2 separate regions of the Homo sapiens genome follow, and region 1 is linked to region 2. Evidence: promoter capture Hi-C in 16 types of primary human blood cells and fetal thymus (Javierre and others, 2016). All regions are on one chromosome and are shown on one strand. Each heading gives the region's core, a stretch centred on a gene start or on the middle of the fragment in contact. The rest is flanking DNA. Distances are from core to core; before and after follow the strand shown.

Region 1 (6,345 bases), core at 3,448-5,947, 190 kb after region 2:
TGGCCGGCAGGGGGCAGCGCGCGGCCCCGCGCGGCCCGACGTGGCGCTGGCCCGGGAGGCAGCCCGTGGGCCGCCGGCGCGCCCTGCCGGGCACCCAGCAGCGCGCTCCCGTTCTCATCAGACGGGAGAAAAAACGCCCAGGCAGAGGAACGTCTAAAAGTCAAGTCATCAAAATTAATGTAATCGAGAAAATGTGCATATTTAAAATATGGATAGAGACGCATAAATACATCTTTAAAATAAAAATATAATCGTTTGTGTTAAGTCCTTGCTCCATTGGCTCTCAGCTGCACTCACAGCACCAGTGAGACCGACACGGTTGTGCCCCATCCCACAGGCGCCAAATGGAGGGCGCAGGGTTTTAGGAGCTCGCGTAGGGCCTCTCGGGCGGCAGCAATGGAGCCGCGAGGCCGGCGGGGAGACCGAGGACGGGACCCGCTGAGCTCTGGGTGAGCTGGGGGGACTCGAGGGGACCTGGATGGGCCAGAGGCCTGGCTTGGGGAAGGGCCCCTTCCCGGTTCCCCAAGGTCCCGGTGTGCCGCTGCCGTAGGGAAGCAGGAAGGCACGGCCGCGCCAGGCGACCTGAACGAGAGGAAGCCCGGGGTCGCCGCCCGCGGGCGCGGCTGGTGTTCATACCCAGCCAGGAAGGGCGGGCGGGCCTCGGGTGCCACGCGGCGTGCCCGGCGCTTTCCCCGCAGTCCCGCTTGCTGCCCGTCCCTGGACTCCTTATCAGGCAGCTGGGTGACCTTGCTGCAAAGGGCAGGGCCGTGGAGCAGGATTTCTGCCGCACACCAGCCACCTGCAACGGTGGTAAGAGGATTTGGCAGTGATCCGGGTACTCTACCTAATATTGGGGCTGAAATATCAGAAGGAATGATAAAATCCATTTTTAAGTGATAGCGTTTAAAGGTGTTGGATCAGGTTTAATGAAGAAAATCATCTCCATCCCAGCTGGGCAGAGATTTGGGATTGTACCCGTGTTTCTTCCCGCACATTGTCACCTGTGGCTTGTTCATCCGTTCATTTCGCGTGCACTGAGGACCTCTGAGGACCTTGCGCCAGACTCTGGAGCAAGCGCGAAATGAACAAAAGCCGGCCCTGCCCTTGGGAAAAATCAAACACACAATGGCCGCTGAGTGCACGCTCCGAGCACGCGCCAAGCCCTGGAAAGCCCGGTAGAGGGGACCCTCCAACCTCCCGCAGTGATGCGTGTGTGGCCAGGGGTCTTGCTAGGCTGCACCTTGCACCTGAATCTCCCGTTGCCTTCACCGTGGAAGCGTTTGCTGTAAAAATAACATGGGGGTTGGGGCGGGGGAGACGTCTTTGTAGCTTTCTCACAGGGCTTAAGACATCTGTCCTGCTATCTTCCCCGGCCTTCCAGGGATTCTCAGTGGATGTTAGCTCTCTGGATTTCACTGGCAAGGTTATAGAGACTTACCATTTTCTGATATGAACATCTGCCAAGTAACGCATAGAGAATAGGAAAGCATGCATATCCCACAAGGAAAAAAAATAAAACTAAGAAACTGTTCTATCAAAGAATTAAGTAAGCATGGAGTGTGTCACTGGATAAATTAAACATACAGAGTTTGGATTGAGGCTAGGAAAGGTTGAAGCAAGAGAAAAGGAGCCCTGGTGACTTGCCCAGGGCAGAGGTTTTTGAAGTGAGCTTCCTCCTTGGAGACCCCTCAGCGCAGGGGGAGTTTGGGAAGACGGGGGCGCCAGAGCAGGTAGGCTTGGCTCCCTCTCCAGCCTCTTAAGGCACGAGTTATTTTACATATTTAGCTTCTGAAAATTGTTTTATTTAAACAAGGGATTCCGGAGGCTACAAACGAAAGCTTGAAAACACTGACAGATGAAGTGCAAAAAATTTGGCTGACCATTATAAATTTGATAAAGATTTCATGTCCTGAATCTGAAAGAGATTCTAAAATATATTACAGATTTAGTTCTACAGAGAAGGGATGAACTCTTCCAAGTAATTTCACAGGTGGAGATGGTTAGAAGTCCTCATACTGGGTGGTTAAAATTGATTTCTTCCATAGTTATGGAAAAGACTTGATACCTTCTCTTGGAGAAATAAGGGACTCATTCAATTGTAAGTTTTTATTGTTTAGAACATAGAAATTCCTTCTACAACCAGAAAAAAACGCTATTTTCATTTGGGGGCAAAGAATTTTAAATAAGATTCTGGAATTCTGTTATGTGATTACTACATACTAATAAGAGTTCATCTTTTTGGTAAAATGAACACCCAAGCATGTTTGTATGCAATTAACGTTTGTTTCAAGACTCTGAAGAGCTGGCAACAATTTGGGCAAGGAAAATGTGTCTATTTCTCTCAATTTGTCTACTGTATGAATTAAACACACCAGAGACTGGCTTAAATTGGTCTGAATATTGACTTGCTTTTTTAGCAGCACTCTGAAACATTTGAGGTTTTTTTTTTTTCCCAAACTTATTTCAGAATGCATCACTGGATAAATTGGCTTGGTAAGGCATTGATTAATTCAAGACACAGTAAGGAACCACTGGGTTAAAGTGGGAAAGAAATAATACAAATTTTAGTTGGACAGTCATTATTATTAAATTGTTCAGGGGGTAACTATGGGAACCAACTTAGTGTCTTTACTTTTTGACAAAATTAATGTGATTTATAGTGATGACTATCATCCAAATCGAAAAATATATACAGAATTTTTTTTAAGAGACAGATTCTCACTATGTTGCTCAGGGTGGTCTCAAACTCCTGGGCTCAAGCGATCCTCCTCCTTAGACCTCCCGAAGTGCTGGGATTACAGGTGTGAACCACCACACCTAGCAGAAATTTTTTTGTATACGCCAGACGCGGTGGTTCACACCTATAATCCCAGCACTTTGGGAGGCCTATGGAGGATTGCTTGAGTCCAGGAGTTTGGGACCAGCCTAGACAACGTAGTGAGATGAGACCATGTCTCTACTAAAAATAAGAAAATTAGGCTTGGTGGCTCATGCCTGTGGTCCCAGCTACTCAGGAGGCTGAGGCGGGAGGATCACCTGAATGTGGGAGGTCCAGGCTGTAGTGAGCCATGATGTCACCATCGTACTCCAGCCTGAGACAGAGCAAGACCCTGTCTCAAAAATAAATAAATAAATTTTTTTAATCTTAAATTTTAGAATTTGCATAATTTACCTGCAGCAAATTTGATCATGGGACCATGTAGTTCTTGGCTGGTACCTTCTGTGGAAAAATGGCAAGTTTCACCTTTCATACTTGTTTACTTTTCTTAATTGAGTTTAGCTTAAATCCAAGCTATTTCAATCCTTTGAGGGCATAATTTGATTATTTGTGTATCAGGTAAATGAAGAGCTGATTGCATTTAATTTTTAAAAAGATTTTATACTTATTAGACTATACTGATTTTAAGAAGAAACAGTCTGTTGTCCTGATAATCATTCTTTAAATAAAATTACCAGCAGGGATAGACATTTTCACTGATACATTTTGTCATTAAAATTCAACTTTCCATTACCTGAATTAATAGACAGCAGTGATGCTCCTGTCTTATAATACTTGAGTTATTTTGAGATATTATTTTACAAAGAGAAGCAGTGAGTTTCATTCATGCGGTAGTGGCGGGGAGGGAATGGTGAGAACTTAGAGGTAGCACTGAGCCGGCAGGATTAGAGTCAAGGGTGTATTTTGTGTTATTAGGGAGCAGGTATTTCTTCCTTATAATAATCTCCTTCATGCAACTACTCCTCTGACTGATAAACAAATGGCTTCTTAGGTCCCAACGTCAGAAATAAACAGAGAAAGGTGGCCTCTTGCCATAACAGTGCTCTCCCCAAAGTCCCTAAGGTATAGAGGACTCAGTCTAAAACGGGGGCTGGATTGGTGTTCTAACCACCAGTGTGCCCAGGAACACCTATTCTACCCTGGTCAGGTGAACCTCAGGACGTCTCCCAATGTCGCCTGGGCTTGGCTGGCCAGGCAGCCAGGGAACTGTGCTTTCAGGCAGGTCCAGACTCACATGCTGTGCCCATAGACAGTGAGAGCTGCAAATCAAAGAGAAATAGTCATGTTTTGCCCTTTTTATTAAGGATCCATGTTGAAATTGGGAGGCAGTATGTAACAGTGGTTAATAGCACACAGCTGGGGTTCCCACCCACTTAGGTTTAAATTCTGGCCGTGTGACCTTGGCTGCTGATGGCTGAACCTCTCTGAACTTCATCTGTTCAAGGGGACACAGATACCAATTTCACAGGTTGTTGCAAGATAAAATGAAAGGAAAGCGTTTATGATCTGGCACAGTGACTGCAACATGGTAAAACTCAATGAATTGTAGTGATTTTAGTTATTATCCTTAATAAACTTATGGCTAGTTCTGACTTCTGAACAGAACTTTTCATGTAAGGTTGCGATCAATAGTACTATGTTTAATGTTTTCTTTTCTTTCTTTCTATCCTGGTCTTTTCCCCTTTTTTCCTTCCTTTCACCTTCCTTTTCTTTCTTTTTTTTAGAGAAATCATTTAACCTGGAGCTGTCCTTTGTAGAAAACAGAAATAAAAGGGCTAAAGTCTATATTTTAACTAAAATTCCTCATTTCAAGGAAACCAACTAGAAATGGTAGATGCAAAGTTGATTTTTTTTTTTTTTTTTTTTTACAAATTGTCATCTAGAAGTTGCCAGTATGACTGGGAAGCAACAAGAGGCTTCAGCAGCAGTAATGCTTTCCAGAGCGCTGGAGGAGAGGCCCTGGCCTGACTCAATGTTGCCCTGGCAACAGTAGGGCCTGGAGGGCCTCTGTCCCTGATCCCTTAATCTGAGGAGCTGCCACCACAGTGCTTCAGGAAAGGTCTCCCACAGACACCTGGCTGGTTCAGGCTACATCCACTGAAGAGGAATGAAGAAAAGCTGGGGATGCGGTCCTTTATCAGAGACAGCCGCCTAAAGGCCTCTCTGATGGTCCCAGCTTTCCAGATCCCCAGAGGCTTAACCAGGCTGCCAGTCTCCACCAGATGCTAAGTGCTGTCTAGGCAGCCAGGGATTCCTAATCCTCTTGTGTTTCTCCACAGAGCCCAGCACAATTCTTTGCACACAAGTGGTGATTAATAAATACTGGGGGGGGGGTGCAGGGCTGTAAGACAGTGAGCATCCCCTCGGCACCAGCCCTGCCTGTCCCACCTGTGACCTTGGAGGACCCAACTCCTCTCCTCTTCATTTCTCAGCTATAAAATGCTAGGGCTCAGCGCTAAGGGTTTTTTCCTGCCTCAAACATTCTTTTTTATCCTCTTACTGTGTTCATCATTTTGGCAAATGCACAGAGCATGTTCTGTTTAATATATTTTGTTTCCCCCAATTTTATCTTCAGTCAAAAAATCCGGAGGCAAAATGGAATAATTTAAAAGAGGTGCTGGCTTTTCTTTTTTCAACAACGATACTGGCCCCAGGAAAACAACTTTTTGGCCAAGCACATGGGCTTTGGAGTCAAAGAACTGAGTTCAAATCCTGGCTCTACTATTTGGTTGCTGTGTGACTTTGGGCCTACTTAACCTCCCTGAGCCTGGAGCTTTCCACCTATAAAATGGGTGTAATGAAACATACATCAGAGTTATGAAGGGATGTATGTAAAGTCTTCCAAAGTAAGAAGCTCTCAATAAATGGTAGTTATTCCTTCTGCTACACAGCTTTATGGGGCCAACAGCAACAGGCAACTTAGGAGTTCACAAGTCTAATTAAATTAAGGGCACCCAAGAAAAGCACTGTGAAAGAGGACCAGAAAACTCAGCGAGGTGGGGTACTACCTCCTGCAAACTCTGGAGTGTGGCCAAGGGGTGAACTGAAACCCTGTCCACTCCTAGATAAGGACCATGATATAGTTGTGGTTTAATTTGTACTTTCTCACACCAAAATAATCTACATTTGCCTACTGAAATTTCCTTCTCAAAGATTCATTCTTTTAGGATATAACACTAGCCCACTACCAACTTGAACTTCTGTTTGAAATTAGTAATCTCTTATTGAGACCTTAGTATCTGCCAGTGTCTTTGCTATGTATCTATTGTGATTTAAGCCTCAGAACAATGGGAACTTTATTATCCCTATTTGACAGATGAGGAAATTGATGTTCTGTTAATTAACTTGTTCAAGGCCATACAACTATGAAGTTTAAAGCCACGTCTTTTTGACACCAAAGGCTATCTACACTTTAGGAACCAATAGCAGAGATTAGGGCAAATGGAAAGTGAGATTCAAGATGGTGGCAAGAAGTCAGAACAAGGGGAGAGACGATGGGGGGCACAGGGTGCTGGGCACTTAGGAAGAGGCATGAGGAGGGAGTCAGAGCCAAGGAAGGGGAGGTA
Region 2 (5,802 bases), core at 3,128-5,627:
TTGTTCAAAGAATACTTTTTTCTTTCACTAAAAATGAGGGTCTGGGGTGAGATGATGTCTAAGGTCATTTTCAGCTCTGCATGTTGCATTCATATTCTACAAATGTAGAGATGCCAGGCTACAAGTACTAAATGTCTATTTTCTTGATTCTTGGAATACCAATGCTACTAATGGGAATAACTGTGAACTTCATTTAAAAGTTTTTTAAGCCGGGTGTGGTGGCTCATGCCTGTAATCCCAGCACTTTGGGAAGCTGAGGCGGGCGGATCACGAAGTCAGGAAATTGAGACCATCCTGGCTAACACAGTGAAACCCTGTCTCTACTAAAAATACAAAAAAAAAAAAAAAAAAAAAAAATTAGCTGGGCGTGGTGGCGGGTGCCTGTAGTCCCAGTTACTCAAAAGGCTGAGGCAGGAGAATGGCGTGAACCTGGGAGGTGGAGCTTGCAGTGAGCGGAGATCACGACACTGCACTCCAGCCTGGGTGACAGAGAGAGACTCTGTCTCAAAAAAAAAGAGGAAAAAAAAAGTTTTTTAAAACGGACTGGGCGCAGTGGCTCATACCTGTAATCCCAGCACTTTGGGAGGCCGAGGCGGGTGGATCACTTGAGGTCAGGAGTTCGAGACCAGCCTGGCCAACATGATGAAACCCCCTCTCTACTAAAAATACAAAAGTTAGCTTGGCGTGGTGGCACACACCTGTAATGCCGGCTACTTGGGAGGCTGAGGCAGGAGAATCGCTTGGACCTGGGAGGCGGAGGTTGCAGTGAGCCAAGATTTCTCCACTGCACTCCAGCCTCGGCAAGAGAGCGAGATTCTGTCTCAAAACAAAAAACAAAAAACAACAACAATTTTTTTTGAGATGGAGTCTCGCTCTGTGGCTTAGGCTGGAGTGCAGTGGTGCAATCTCGCTCACTGCAAGCTCTGCCTCCCAGGTTCACACCATTCTCCTGCCTCAGCCTCTGGAGTAGCTGGGACTACAGGCGCCCGCCACCACACCTGGCTAATTTTTTGTATTTTTAGTGGAGACAGGGTTTCACCATGTTAGCCAGGATGGTCTCGATCTCCTGACCTTGTGATCCGCCTGCCTTGGCCTCCCAAAGTGCTGGGATTACAGGCGTAAGCCACCACACCCGGCCAACAACGTTTTTTAAAACAGCATATGTCAAGATTTGAATGTCAGTTGGAAAAAACAAATGGGTAGTTTCTAAGAGACACAACAAAGCCACATTTATCCTGCTGAACTCATTGCAATACAAGGCTTGGACCTTGCAAAAGTAAAGCAGAGAGAAGAAATTGCCTGTTATCAAGTGCTTGCTGTATGCCGGGCACTTGGCTACATAAGCACTTTACATAAATTCTTTCTTTTAGTTCCATCAGCAACCTTAGGATGAGGTGTTCACATTCTCAGTGGAAGACAAGGACACTAGGGCAGAGTGAGCATGAGCCACAGCACTTAGTAAATGAAGGATCTGGGACTAAACAACAATAATGATCATGAGTACTTCTTGAGCTCTTCCTCTGTGCCAGGTACTGTTCTAAGCACTTGACTTGAATTCACTCATTTAATTCACACAACTCTATGAGCTAAGTACTGTTATCTATTCACCAATAATCATGAGGAAACAAGTACTAAGAAGTTAAAGACCTGACCAAGTTTCACATCTAGTAAGTGGCTGTGATGGTGAATACTGAATCAACTTGATCGCATTGAAGGATGTAAAGTATTGATCCTGGGTGTGTCTGTGAGGGTGTTGCCAAAGGAGATTAACATTTGAGTCAGTAGGCTGGGAAAGGCAGACCCACCCTCAATCTGGTGGGCACAATCTAATCAGCTGCCAGCACAGCTAGAATATAAAGTAGGCAGAAAAATGTGAAAAGACTAGACTGGCCTAGCCTCCCAGCCTACTTCTTTCTCCCATGCTGGACCCTTCCCACCCTCGAACATCAACGAACATCAGACTCTAGGTTCTTCAGTTTTGGGACGCAGACTGGCTCTCCTTGCTCCTCAGCTTCCAGATAGCCTATTGTGGAGCCTTGTGAGCATGTGAGTTAATACTTAATAAACTCCCCTTTATATAACATTATATATATATCCTATTAGTCTGTCTAGAGAAACCTAATATACTGGCAGTGCTGGGCTAGGGACCCAGACGGTCTCACTCCCCAGCCCCACTTAGCAAATCACTGTGCCACACTGTCTTCATCAGCCCGGGGGACTGCAGGCGCCACACCATCTCCACCAGCCCACGTGATTGCAACCCTGGTGCCTGGTGCTGCCTCCTTTGCAGGCTGGAAATTTGATCTGAACCTTTTTCCAGACTTCCAGGCTCAGAGTCTGGGATGCTGAAACATGCTCATTTTCAAGAGACTGAGGTATACATGTGCATCAGCTTCACCTGCATGTTGCCTCCCAGAAGCTACCTGGCAACATGCAACGTCAGAAGGTTGCCTTGTGAGTATAGAAATAGAATAGAGGGAATGAGTTCTACGACCGAACTGTTTAATGACCTCAGCATCCTATGTCCTGATATTGTGCCTGTGGAGGATAACATTTTTATTTTATTTTTAAAGACAAGATCTTGGTCTGTTGCCTACGCTGGAGTGCAGTGGTGCGATCGTGATTCACTGCAGCCTTGAACTACTGGGTTCAAATGATTCTTCCACCTCAACCTCTTGAGTAGCTGAGACTACAGGTGTGCACCACTACTCCTGGCTCATTTTAATTTTAATTTTAATTTTGTAGAGACAGGGTCTGCCTATTTGCTCAGGTTGGTCTCAAACTCCAGTGATCCTCCTGCCTTGCCCTCCCAAAGTGCTAGGATTACAGGCATGAGCCACCTCACCCATGACACATTTTTTTTTTTTTCTGTATCTGACACCAAGAGTTTGTTGGTCTGAGAGATTAGGTCAGACCCTCTGGACAGGATCTCCCTGACTGACCGGTTTCTTCAGCCTGGCCCATTCTTTCTCTAGATTTATTAATGATTCAGTGACGTGCCCGTTGATCTAGTTGCCCTGGAAATAATGCCTCTGTTTGAGATGACATTTCATATCCTTACACTCTGATTCACCATTCAATCATTTACAAATATGAACACTTCTGTGTACAACAAATGGAGGATACAGTAGACAGACATTTCAGTGGAAGAGATACAGATAATTAATATGTAAATGAGTGAAAAAGAGAGATTACTTCAGATGGTGATAAATGGTATGAAAAATTTCCAGCAGGGTAACGAGATTGAGTATTGAGATGGAGGATGGTGTGGGGCTGTAGAAAGGGGGGACTGGGGATATCTCTCTGAGGATGTAGAATCTGAACTGAGCCCTGCATGTGAGGAAGGAGCCAGTCATGATCTTAAAAGTTTCGTTCTCCGCCGGGTGGGGTGGCTCACACCTGTAATCCCGGCGCTTTGGGAGGCTGAGGTGGGCGGATCACCTGAGGTCGGGAGTTTGAGACCAGCCTGACCAACATGGGGAAACCCCGTCTCTACTAAAAATACAAAATTAGCCAGGCGTGGTGGCACATGCCTGTAATCCCAGCTACTAGGGAGGCTGAGGCAGAAGAATCGCTTGAGCCCGGGAGGTGGAGGTTGCAGTGAGCCGAGATTGCGCCATTGCACTCCAGCCTGGGCAACAAGAGCGAAACTCCATCTCAAAAAAAAAAAGTTTCGTTCTCAGAGGAAACACTTCACGCCTATCCTGTGAAGTGGAAGTTCATTGCTTGTCTCCAGAGAGACAATGGTATAAATTAGGCAGCTATGGTTGCCGTAGTGTTGCTGGTATTGGGGATTAAGTACATGGCGATTAAATGGTCATGTGGCCGTGCTTTCCAACAAAAATTCCAGACACATCGTCTTACATGTAGCATGAGGACTGGAAATATTTGAAATCAGGGTTGTCTTGGACTTTCCAAGGCACATGATTACCATAATTAACAGGCTACAGAGGGCTGGCCTGGGCCTGACCCCACGCTCCACACTGTTGATATGGAAACTGTTCCCAGTTTCTAAAAAGCCAAATAACAGGTGAACTTTTGGAATAAAATCACTTGCCTTTTGGAACCATATTTCTTTTCCCCAACAACATTACATGTTCTTTCCTCAGCAAAAAGTCTGAGTTGTACACATTTTTGAATCCCTCAAAGCATTTAGCAGAGTGCTGGGCATACGGAAGACAGCAGGATCCCGTGGCTTTGCCTGAAACGCGGAACCTGGTCTTGACTTTTGAGTGACTGAGCCCTCCTGGTGCCCGCACTCTGGCCGGGAGTGCCAAGCAGCGTTCTCCCTCCCGCCGCACGGGGGCACAATGGGAAGCCTGCACAGTGAGGAAGAGCGGCTGGAGCCGGTCTTGTGCCGGGGAGGTCGCTGCTCCCAGAATGCACCTGGCATCAACACGGCGGCGGCGGCGGCGGCTTCCAACAGGCTCTGGGGCGCCGAGCGGACAGGAACGCAGCACGGGGGCTCCGAGGCGGGGTCTGGGTGTTGAGGGGCGACTGGAGCCATGGCGGAGTCGGCGCCTGCTCGGGTAAAGAGGCACCGGCGCGCTGGCTCGAGGGCGCGTTGGGGATGGCGGAGTCCCCTGCCGGGGGCGGGGCTTCGCGGTTTGGACGCCGCCGGGGTCTTGGTTTCCCGGGGCTGCCGTTGGCGCGGGTGAACGCGGACCCTCCTCTTCGCGACCCCAGTGCTCTGCCCTTTTTTCCCTCCGCTTCCTTCTGCAGCGGGGTCGGAGCCTCGGCGCCGTGCGCCCTTGCCCAGAAACTTCTCTGACGCTTGCTTTAGGTTGGTGGATTTGTGACCCTGCCCACACATTTTCTCTTTCGTGCCAAAAGAGCCCGTTCCCAGGTTGGAGTGTTTCCAGATTGGAAACGGTCTCCGTCGCTACGAGTGAGCTCTCCCGCTGCCCGGGAGACCCCAGGACTTGCCTCTCTGCGACCACCTCCTCTTCGGTCCGATGTGTTGTCGGTTTTTCCAGTGCTGCAGATTTCTGTCTGGGGGTTGCAGCCACAGGTTGAAGTCAGCCTGGGCTGCTTCTCCTTGGGGACGGATGTTATCTACAGTGCAGTTGCTGCATTTTGTTTGTAGAGCTGCCCAAACTCTCTCCTTCACCCCCCCCCCAACACCCCCCTCCCAGCCCACCGACCATCCCCATTCTGGGAATGTCAAGATACGGAGTTTGGTGTGAGGAAAATCCTATTTGTGGAGTCACGAAGCTTTCAGCTGTCCATTTGGGTGATTTTAGGCAACTGTGTTCGCTTCTCTGGGTCTCTTTCGTTTTCTTAACTGTAAATCGAGAGTGTTGGAGTAGTTGCTAGATGATCTCCAAGGCTTTAAGTTTCCTTCCAGCTCCGACATTCTCATACTGTTCCCATACTGTTTCAAAGTAGTGGTTAATTTAACAACACCAGAGGGTTTGCAACGGAAGGGGCAGCTGGAATTGAATTGACTTTTAATGAAGTGTTCCTTGGTCTAGAAACACTTCGAGAATCATGTTAGATCTTTGTGAGAATGGAGGGCTAAGGAAATTCTGTGGGGAAAATTTGACCATGAGCAGGGTGCGCTATATTTGATTCTTGTAGAAAGTGCGTTAAGAACTAAGAACGGAGAGATTGGGAGACTTAGAGAACACAGTATTTGCTTTCAAGGAAGTTAACAGTTGAATTGGGAAGACAAGACACAAATGTTTACAATATTAACCTCATCTGACTCCTATAAGCTAGGCTGAGCCAGTCAAAGACTTGGCTTTTCCACAAGATCTAGTTAGTGTTAGAGTCCGGCGAGAGGATTCTGCCACAGTTCTT

What was found. The method cuts DNA at HindIII sites, captures the fragments that hold promoters and counts their contacts. A CHiCAGO score of 5 or more calls a contact.
Region 1: a contact is called between a fragment that was not itself captured here and the fragment with the promoter of ZNF212 in region 2, in 1 of 17 cell types (non-activated CD4 T cells). The highest score is 5.7, in non-activated CD4 T cells.

Annotation. Positions count from the first base shown.
Region 1 is chr7:149,422,503-149,428,847 of GRCh38, forward strand. No RefSeq gene overlaps it. Among named protein-coding and RNA genes, the nearest start is that of TRC-GCA11-1, 10 kb to the left of the region's middle. RefSeq lists a silencer at 1-166. The HindIII fragment of the contact is 5,723 bases long and covers 1,837-6,345 here.
Region 2 is chr7:149,235,274-149,241,075 of GRCh38, forward strand. ZNF212 (zinc finger protein 212) reads left to right here and starts at 4,378. Exons shown (of 5, transcript NM_012256.4): 1 at 4,378-4,529. The coding sequence starts at 4,506. RefSeq lists an enhancer at 4,145-4,439. The HindIII fragment of the contact is 6,599 bases long and covers 1-5,212 here.